Regions from separate parts of the Homo sapiens genome. Here region 2 is linked to region 1. The links are contacts of gene promoters, found by promoter capture Hi-C in blood cells and fetal thymus (Javierre and others, 2016). All regions are on one chromosome and are shown on one strand. The core of a region is centred on a gene start or on the middle of the fragment in contact, and the rest is flanking DNA. Distances in the headings are between cores, read along the strand shown. Region 1 holds the start of DPM1 (dolichyl-phosphate mannosyltransferase subunit 1, catalytic). Region 2 has its middle 140 kb from the start of MIR3194.

Evidence for each region. The method cuts DNA at HindIII sites, captures the fragments that hold promoters and counts their contacts. A CHiCAGO score of 5 or more calls a contact.
Region 2: a contact is called between a fragment that was not itself captured here and the fragment with the promoter of DPM1 in region 1, in 1 of 17 cell types (endothelial precursors). The highest score is 5.5, in endothelial precursors.

The regions. Positions count from the first base shown.
Region 1 is chr20:50,954,889-50,959,781 of GRCh38, reverse strand. It overlaps DPM1 (dolichyl-phosphate mannosyltransferase subunit 1, catalytic), which reads left to right and starts at 1,250. Exons shown (of 9, transcript NM_003859.3): 1 at 1,250-1,419; 2 at 4,497-4,596. The coding sequence starts at 1,259. It overlaps MOCS3 (molybdenum cofactor synthesis 3), which reads right to left and starts at 964. Exons shown (of 1, transcript NM_014484.5): 1 at 1-964. The coding sequence starts at 939. RefSeq lists enhancers at 181-791, 1,004-1,493. The HindIII fragment of the contact is 3,207 bases long and covers 1-1,409 here.
Region 2 is chr20:51,311,686-51,316,578 of GRCh38, reverse strand. No RefSeq gene overlaps it. Among named protein-coding and RNA genes, the nearest start is that of MIR3194, 140 kb to the left of the region's middle. RefSeq lists enhancers at 3,677-4,665, 4,666-4,893. The HindIII fragment of the contact is 1,712 bases long and covers 1,453-3,164 here.

The DNA of each region.
Region 1 (4,893 bases), core at 1-2,500:
TTCATAGTCCAGCAGATCAGTCACAGTGGGCCGTTCCCCGCAAGCTGCACAGTCGAGCCTGCGGCTCCGCAGCCGAATAGAGCGGAAATGCCCTCTCAGGGCATCAAAGAGCAACAAGCTGCCACTGTAAGAGGGGCCCAGACCCGCAGCGATTTTCAGCACTTCCAAGGCCTGCAGGCAGCCCAGGACCCCGGTAACGACACCGAGCACCCCGCCGTCCGCGCAGTTGGTCACTGTCTCCGCTGGGGGTGGTTGGGGGAATATGCAGCGATAGCAAGGGCCACCGTCATAATGGTAGACTGTGATTTGGCCCTCGAAGCGCAAGGCACTGGCAGACACGAGGGGCCGACCCGCCAGCACACATGCGTCATTAACCAGGTAGCGAGTGGGCACGTTGTCCGAGCAGTCAGCCACCACATCATATCGGCGGACCAGGTCTAGGGCAGTGGCTGGCGTAAGGGCCTGAGTGTACGGCACGCATTCCACTGCCGAATTGAGGCGGCGCAGCGAGGCGGCGGCCGAAAAGGCCTTGGCCTGGCCAGCCAGTGCCTCGCCATGCAGCACTTGGCGGGCCAGGTTGCTCATCTCTACCACGTCATAGTCCACAAGGCCAAGGCGGCCCACGCCGGCCGCTGCCAAGTACTGCGCTAGTGGACAGCCGAGCCCACCGCAGCCCACGATTAGCACGCACGCGGTCCCCAGGCGCAGCTGTCCGTGCACGCCCAGCTCGGGCAGCACTAGCTGCCGGCTATAGCGCAGAATCTCATCTCGGGACAGAGCGGCCTTCGGCGGCAGCGGCGACACCGGAACCAGCCGTTCTGGCTGCGGTTCCTGCTCAGCCAAAAGAGCCGACGCCAGCTTCTGCTTCAGCGAATTCAATTCCTCCTCACGTTGGGCAACTTCAGCTTGTAAGGCGAGTACCTCCTCCCGGGAAGCCATGGCGACCTCTTCCGGAAGTTGTCGTGAAAGGCATTTCCGCTTCCGTCTTCTGTCTCCTAGCGACTGGGATAAACTAAAAAACTTTATGGAGCTTGGGAAAAGGTGATGAATAGATATTTACTTCCTGAAGAAACCTTCAGATTAAACTTCAAAGATGTATAAATCCAGAATATTTCTAATTGAACCACGCAATGGCCCTAGAAGAACTAGCGATCAATCACACAGGTCATCCCCCGCTTCCGAATTTGGTACGGTCCGACCCGTCCTTTTCCGCGCCACATTACGTAATTCCGCTTCCGGCATCTGGCTCAGTTCCGCCATGGCCTCCTTGGAAGTCAGTCGTAGTCCTCGCAGGTCTCGGCGGGAGCTGGAAGTGCGCAGTCCACGACAGAACAAATATTCGGTGCTTTTACCTACCTACAACGAGCGCGAGAACCTGCCGCTCATCGTGTGGCTGCTGGTGAAAAGCTTCTCCGAGAGGTAGCGCACCAGGTCTCCCTCCCCGAAGAATGAGATGAGCTGGCTTCCCCGGCCCGGGTGTCGGCAGCTGGCTGCGCGAAGCGGCCCTGTCCAGCCTTCTTTGCCTCACACAGGAAGGCCCGGGGAGAGGGCCACCCTGCGAGGGAAGCAGAGGCGGATGCTTGTTGGGTTTTCTTCGTGTCCTGGGTTCTCATTCCTGCCCTTGGGTTTTGTGAGACTCTCATTTATCTTTATTATGTAGTACTCCCGTCCCCCGCCTTTCCGTAGAAAGGTTGGCCACTCTTTTACTTGGAAGCGAGGCTGAAAGCGTGATCCCACTCCTCCCTCTAGGCGGTCAGGATCTGCGGCAAGAGCCGGGAGTCCAAGCGAGAGCTCTCACTCTCCGCTCCGGTGCCGAGTGCTTACATAAGCATGAGGTTTGGTGTGTGTGGGTTAGGGAGCTATTGCTGGGCACGATAACCTTTCTGGAAAGGAGAAAGCAGAAGAGCATCTTCGCTGATCACTGGTGGATGTTTGGTGTGATTGTTAGAACCGGGATGGGGGGTGGGTGGAGTTCGAATTTGGAAGTGTTAATGCAGTGTTTTTAAAAACTGCAAAAAATCCTGGAGTCAGTACGAAGTAACTTGTTTTACGATTGCACAAATGGGATCATGCTGTGAAATCTTTGAAGACTTTTTCTCATATTAACATGTACAAACATAGCAAATTACTTTGGAAGTTAGGTAACATTCCATATGGCTGTGTTATTTATTTAATCAGGTCATGGCAATGAACTGGATTATTTCCAGCGCCTTTTGGTTGTTTCTGTTTTTTGGCTTTTGCTTTGTCGATGAGAACAAGGACTTTGTTCACACCATATTTTCCAGCTAAATTTAGAAAAGTGCTTGACACATAGCGGTGCTCCTTTATTGCATCAGTGTTGGCAGCAGACGCGTTCATACTTTTACTTGTGTACTAGGGATAAATTCTTCGAGGTAGGATTGCTGGGTCGACAGAAATGTGCTTAAAATGGACAGTTACTGCCAAATTGCTCTAAAGAAAAAAAAGGTTGTACAAGTTTGGACTCTCCATTCTTCAGAGTGCCTGTTTCCCTATCAACCAGCCCGCCTGAGCATTAGACTTAACATTGTTGGAAGTACTCATTTGTGAAAACCATTGCTGTTTTGATTGTATTTCCTTGAATAACTGCCTTCATATGCCTTGCCCCTCAGAGTTTTAAAATTTTTATTTTTCCTGTTTAATCTTTTAATTTTGATTTCTATAAGCTCTAAATTAAAGAAAGTAACTATCATACAACCGATCTCGTTCAGGGCTTGTATTCTAATTTTGCAATTTTTTTTTTTGCTGTTTTAATTTTTTTATGTAGTACAATTTATGTTTCCTTTTAATGGTTTGTGAATCAATCTTTTAAGATCAAAATGAAGTTTGATAAAGGAAACAAAACTTTTCAGATGCAATCAAATTACTTGAAGTCAGCCCAGCTTGGTACCTTTGAGCTGCCTCACCCTCAGGTGGTGTAGCTGCTTTGAAGTGGTAGGGGACAGTAATTTGCTTTTAACGACCCCATTTTGTTTATGGAATTTCTCTTTCAGCACGTCTATTAAAATCACCTTACATATTTTGGCATGTAAAGGCACCAGTGCCCAGATTTAAGGCACAGTGGGAAGCCAAAGTCATTGTTCTACTCTTGGAGAATAGATAACACAGGGGTTTGCTTTCTTGTCTTCAAAGTTTGCTGGGGCTGACTTGTTAAAGCCTTTAACAGTGGAATATGTTTTCTGGTTGATTTTCTTGTATTTGTTTCTTTTTTCTTTTTCTTTTTTTTTTTTTTCTTTTGGAGACGGAGTCTTGCTCTGTTGCCCAGGCTGGAGTGCGGTGGCGCCATCTTGGCTCACTGCAGGCCCCGCCTCCCGGGTTCTTTTTAGTAGAGACGGGGTTTCACTGTGTTAGCCAGGATGGTCTCGATATCCTGACCTCGTGATCCGCCTGCCTCGGCCTCCCAAAGTGCTGGGATTACAGGTGTGAGCCACCGCGCCCAGCCTCTTGTATTTGTTTCTTAAAGCAGGACCAAGAGAAAACGGAATGTTATGTCGTAGGTATTATTTATCCACCAAGTATTGTGTTGGTTTGTTTTTAGACTAGAAACTACCACCTGAGATTAATGGGAAGTAACAGATGTTAATTCTGAAGCACAGTGGAATCTTTTGTAATGCTACTCTGCTTTTGTTTTTTTAATTTGATAATGTGAGGTAATAGGCACAACTATTTGAAATTGTGGTTTAAGATAATGTCACCATTCTAAAATCGGTTTTTTTAAAGATGAAATTAAATCAGATTTATACTTGATTATTCTATTTGGATCAGATTAACAAGAATAATCACTGAGTTACTCAGTTTGGTTTGAGTTACCATGTAAAGTACTTTTGAAATATTTTATGTAACTAAGATTTGCTATTAAGGTTCAGAATATTATTTCCAAATAGGTAATAAAATTTCATATGGCTGGGCACGGAGGCTCATGCCTGTAATCCCAGCATTTTGGGAGGCTGAGGCGGGCAGATCACGAGGTCAGGAGATTGAGACCAGGCTGGCTAACACGGTGAAACCCCGTCTCTACTAAAAATACAAAAAATTAGCCGGGCGTGGTGGTGGGCGCCTGTAGTCCCAGCTACTCCGGAGGCTGAGGCAGGAGAATTGCTTGAGGCCAGGAGGCAGAGGTAAGCCGAGACTGCGCCACTGCATTCCAGCCTGGCAACAGAGCAAGACTCCATCTCAAAACAAAAAAAATTCATATGATACATAGGTCATTACGTGATTTTCTTTTGAACTAAAAAGTTTGTTCTCTGTGTAGGAATTCTTTAATATCTCAGGACATTAGCATGTTTCAGCAACATACTGGGTTTGGAGGTAAAGTACTAAATGTTTGACATTTATTTCATTTGATAATTGAAGTTTTCCTCAACGATTAATATAGCAATACATCTCCATTTATACTTTTAAGGAATTAGTAATTTTTAAATTACTTTTAAATTTGAGAACACTGTCATCAGTCATTAATACAAATTTAATTTTTTTAGTGGAATCAACTATGAAATTATAATCATAGATGATGGAAGCCCAGATGGAACAAGGGATGTTGCTGAACAGTTGGAGAAGATCTATGGGTCAGACAGAATTGTAAGTTATAAGAACATTTTTCTGTGATATGAATTGTGATTATGTAGGGGAAAGATGAGACATGAACAATGCTTAAATTCAATCTATTTGTTTAGAAACTGAAAAGATAAAGAGCAACTTACGCATTTGGGATTTAAATGCATTTTTGTTGTCCGTAAAATTTTACATATCTTTGGTATGTTGGGTCAGTGGTCATTTTACAGCAAAGAGTGAGCTTTTGGATGAACTCTGTTTATAACTAATTCTGCAGATAAATTTTCTTGAAGGGCAAAAATTAAAGCATGATACTGAATTGAC
Region 2 (4,893 bases), core at 1,059-3,558, 360 kb before region 1:
GCCCATCTTATGCACAGATTTGCTTCCTGCTGTCCCCTCAGCTCCCTCCTTCCTCTGCCATGCCCAATGCTTGTCTGAACTTGTCATTGACTTCCTAGCCCTGTGACCTTTGCCTGCCCACCTCCCTGTCTTGGAAAGTCCCTTCCTTTCTTTTCTACCTAGCAAGCCCCTCCCCATCCTTCCATACCCAGCTGATATAGTCCCTTGCAGACAATGTCCACCTCAGGAGAGTGAGCACTTCCTACTTGTGCCTCACTCTCCATACCCAATCCTGCAATTCTAATGCTTATTACATGTGTTTATCTGCATATCTGTCTCCCTCAGAAGACTGTCAACCTCTGAGAGATCCTTATTTATGTATTTATTTATTGAGATGGAGTCTCGCTCTGTCACCCAGGCTGGGGTGCAGTGGCGTGATCTTGGCTCACTGGAACCTCTGCCTCCCAGGTTCAAACCATTCTCCTGCCTCAGCCTCTGAGTAGCTAGGATTACAGGTGCCTGCCACCATGCCTGGCTAATTTTTTTTTTTTTGTATTTTTAGTAAAGACAGGGTTTTACCATGTTGGCCAGGCTGGTTTTGAACTCCTGACCTCAAGTGATCCACCTGCCTCGGCCTCCCAAAGTGCTAGGATTACAGGTGTGAGCCACCATGCCTGGCCCCTCTGAGGGATCCTTATGCAATCATGAACGGTCTAGAATGAGTGCTTTATTTACATTCTCATTTAGTGCTCACAATTATTAGTGTCCATATTTCACAGATAAGAAGACTGAGGCACAGCAAAGTTAGGTAACTCATCCACATACAGAGCAGAGCTGGCTGCAGAATCCCAGCCTTTCTGATTTTAAACTCTATGCTCTGAACCACTAAAATGCAGCCTTCTCATTTACCTCTTCATCCTCAGTAGGCCTAGGCTCATGGACAAACCTGTCTCACTTGCCTATTTATCCCCTCCCTGGCCATGGCAGACATCACTAATCAATCACAGCATTTTTTCCAATCAGCCAAATGCAGCCTCACAATTTATCTTGGTAAAAGCATCTGGGTAAGCTGCCAACATCAACAGGAGTTGGCATGCCTGATGAAACCTGTAGGCTGTGCTAGTAGTGGGTGCCCATAAATAATGCACTGAATTGAGACTATTGTGACTGATTTGAGAAGGTAAAACATGGCCACCATCTACTGATGTTATTCATTACCCTCTACTGAGACATTGCTATGGTCACTGCTTAATTCCTGTGGGAACAGTAGCCACTCCAGACCCATCACTCTCCATCCTACTGACTTCCATGCTGATAGTCATGTGCGGAGACAGAGCCATCTCCACTCAGGAAAGACCACTCCCAAAGCCCTTCCTACACATGTGTGAAGCATAAATGGCAGCCGGGGTCATGCCAATAGGTCATATACGCCAGTCGCAGAGATGGGAAGGTGTCACCACCCAAGGGGAAGCTTGCACTTGTTGGACATGAGCCCTTTTGGACAAGAAGCTGCAACAGAGTCAACACAGAAATCCTGGGCCAAATGCCCAGAGGGCTGCTGTATTGGAGAGTTATAGGAAGGTGGTTCTAGAACTATGGCCTCGAAGGCAGAGCCCAAGAAAAGCAGGGAACAGAGTCCTAGAACCTGGCTCCAGGCAGATGACATCCCTCCAGCTGGGCCCAAAAGCACCCCTGTCATCTGCTGCAGTGGCAAGTAAGCTGTTGCTGAAGTAAGCCATGGTGTTGATGGGGCTGTTGGCACAGATCTGACTATTCTTTAGGACTTTGAAGCCACTGCAATAGGCAGGATTCTAAAAATGGTGCCAAAAGATGTTCTCCCTTAACCCCAGAAGCTGCATCTGTGAGTCGGATGCAACAGTCCCACGATCGTGCTATGCGGCACAGCTGACCTTAAGACAGGGAGGGAAATTTTCTGGATGACCCTGATCTATCACACAGCCGTGAAAAGCAGAAAACTGTCTCTGGCTAATGGCGGAAGAGGAAGCCAGAGAGATCCAAAGCATGGATGGACTCGGTGCATATTTGCCGGCTGTGCAGCTACGCGAGGCCCCTGGGAGCAGAGTGTGGCCCCCGGCAGCCAACCAGCAAAGACACAGGGACCTCAGTCCTAAAACCACCAAGAACCGGACTCTGCCAACAACCCGTATGAACTTGGAAGTGAATTCTTCCCCTGAGTTTCCAGATGTGAGTGCAGCCCGGCCAATACATTCACATCAGCCTGGTGAGACCCTGCACAGAGAACCCAGCCAAGCCCACCTGGGAATGGGGACAGCCTGTGGGGCTGTACACATGATAATGTTAAATGAACCTGAAGGGTAAGCTATGGCTCCAGCGCGGGCCAAACTCACATTTGCAAAATTAGTAATCAAATGGGTGAGGACGCCAAGGCTGGAGCGTGCCCACATATGCCCCTGTTAGGGTCCTGGATTGCCCTTGAACACCAGCTCCTGAGCTCTTGGTGACCAATTCAGGCTGAAAGAGCCATCTCTTGCCCCCAGGCTCCCACATATGGCAGGCCACTCATAAGAGTGGATTGGGCAGGTGTTCTCTGCAGACAGAGCTCCGGAGAAGCTGCCCTTTAGAAGATACTTCTAATCCCTGATGGGCCGTTTGCATGTCCTGGATGGGATGTCAGCTCCTCCAAGAGGTTTCTCTCCCCTAGGTCCCCTCTAAAGGGCCTCCACCTTGGCGCTATTGACATTTTGGACCAGATAATTTTTTGCTAGAGGGCCTGTCCGGTGCATTGTAGATTGTTCAGCTGCATCCCTGGGCTCTACCCACTAGATGCCAGTAGCATCTCCTGAATTCTAACCATCAAACATATCTCCAGAGTTTGCCAAATGACTGCTGGGGGAAAAAAATTACCCCTGGTTGAGAACCAGTACTCCAGCACTTGCTTGTAGGCCCTGTCACTTTTCCTCCTGACAAGCTCAGAGAACGAACCTCCACCCTCATGCTGATGAATCATCGTATTTCAATCAATGCATCGCATCCATCAAAACCAGCAGGATGCTGTTTGCATACGTGTGTGTATGTGTGAGTGTGTGTTCCACTATTCCAGCCCATGTCAATTCCATCAGCAGGAAGGAAGTGCTGGGGGAAGGAACATGCTTCCTGGTCAGGCCATCCTGCAAATCCCTGATGCTGCTGACTTAGCAGAAGCTTCCCACACACTGGCTTCTCCAACACCATCACATACGGTTGTTCTCAGGCCTCTGCTCCTTGCAAAGGGCTAGAGCTCCCTTTCCTGGAGGGCCTGTGAACAGCCATCATTGAGCCATGAGGCTGGCATTATCCTCCCCATTAGAAAGATGAAGAAACTGAGGCTCGGAAAGGTAACGTGAAGAGCTTAAGACAGCAGATCTATCTTATTCTGAAGCCTGTTTTTACTATAGATTTCCCATCATAAAGCAACTGTCTAGATATGCGGCCAGGTCACTGTGAACAATAAACCTTTAGTGGTCTCACTTTGCAGCCAGGCCACTGCCGAGCATTTGTAGATTCATTGGATTTCATTATTGAGTATTTTAAGCCTACAATAAAGAGCAGAGGATAATGCAGGGTGAGTATCCTTTATCCAACATGATTGGGACCAGAAGTGTTTCAGATTTCAGAGTTTTTCAGATTTGGGGATACTTGTATTACACTGAGCAGCTGAGCATCCCAAATCTGAACACTTGAAATGTTCACTGTAGCACTTCCTTCGAGTACAGCATCAACACTCACACCATTTTGAGTTTTGGAGCATTTTGCGTTTCAGATTTCAGATTCGGGATGCTCAACCTGTGTACCAGAAAGGCTGACATCTACTACCCAGCTTGGTTCAAATTTGTTTTATGACTGAAGTTATTTAATACATGTCATAGAGACAGGAGACAGCCAAGGGTCCCCCCACAAAACTCCGCCTTCAAGCCTAAAATGGCCTGAAGGCTGAAAAACCCGGACTGCAGGTCCTGGAGAATCTCTGACCTGCCTGAGCACTGGGAGGATGGGGTGGAGTCTCAAGAAGTTTGTGCCGTTTGCAAGGGAAAGGAACCTGGCCTCTCCTGTTCCTGGATAGTAAACTGGGATTCAAACTATGAGGTGGGAAGCCTTCTAGCAGGACTCTCTCCTGCTTTACTGAGATTTATTTTTCCTTTTCGCCTAATAAATTCCATTTCCCCTCACCCTTCAAAGTGTCTGCAGGCCTAATCTTTCCTGGTCATGTGACAAGAACCCTTTTTTTTTTTTCCCCCTACAACACATGTATTAGGGCATTCTTGCATTGCTCTACAGAAATACCTGAGACTAGGTAATTTATAAGAAGAGAGAGAGGGAGAGGAGGTGCCACACACTTTTAAATGACCAGATCACGCATGTAAAGCAAAAATAAAATTCTAAGCCGCACAACCTGCTGATAAACCCTCCCCTTGGCCAAGAGCATTCTAAAATTAACTGGAAAGACGAGTTCGGGTTATCATGGGAAGTGAAAGTCAGACATGCCTCCTTATACCCTCCTCCCCCTCCCTTTGGAATTCAAGCACAGTTGACCAACATTAACATTAAAACAGAGATCTTAAGACAGATAGAACAGACTTGAAGTCTGATAAACATTTACAATCTATTCTCTGTGAAGCCTGCTTTGGGAGGCTTCATCTGCATGATAAAACCTGGGTCTCTACAACCTATTATCTTAACCATTCCGTCTGTGATTCCAGGTCTTTAAATAATAACTCTTTAAGCCAATTGCCAGTCAGAAAGTCTTCGACTCCGCCTATGACCTGGAACCCCGCCTCCTCCAGTTATCCAATTGTCCCGCCTTGCCAGACGAAACCAACATGTATCTTACATGCATTGATTGACATGTCTCCCAAAAATGTATAAAATCATTTTGTATCCTGACTACCTCGGGCA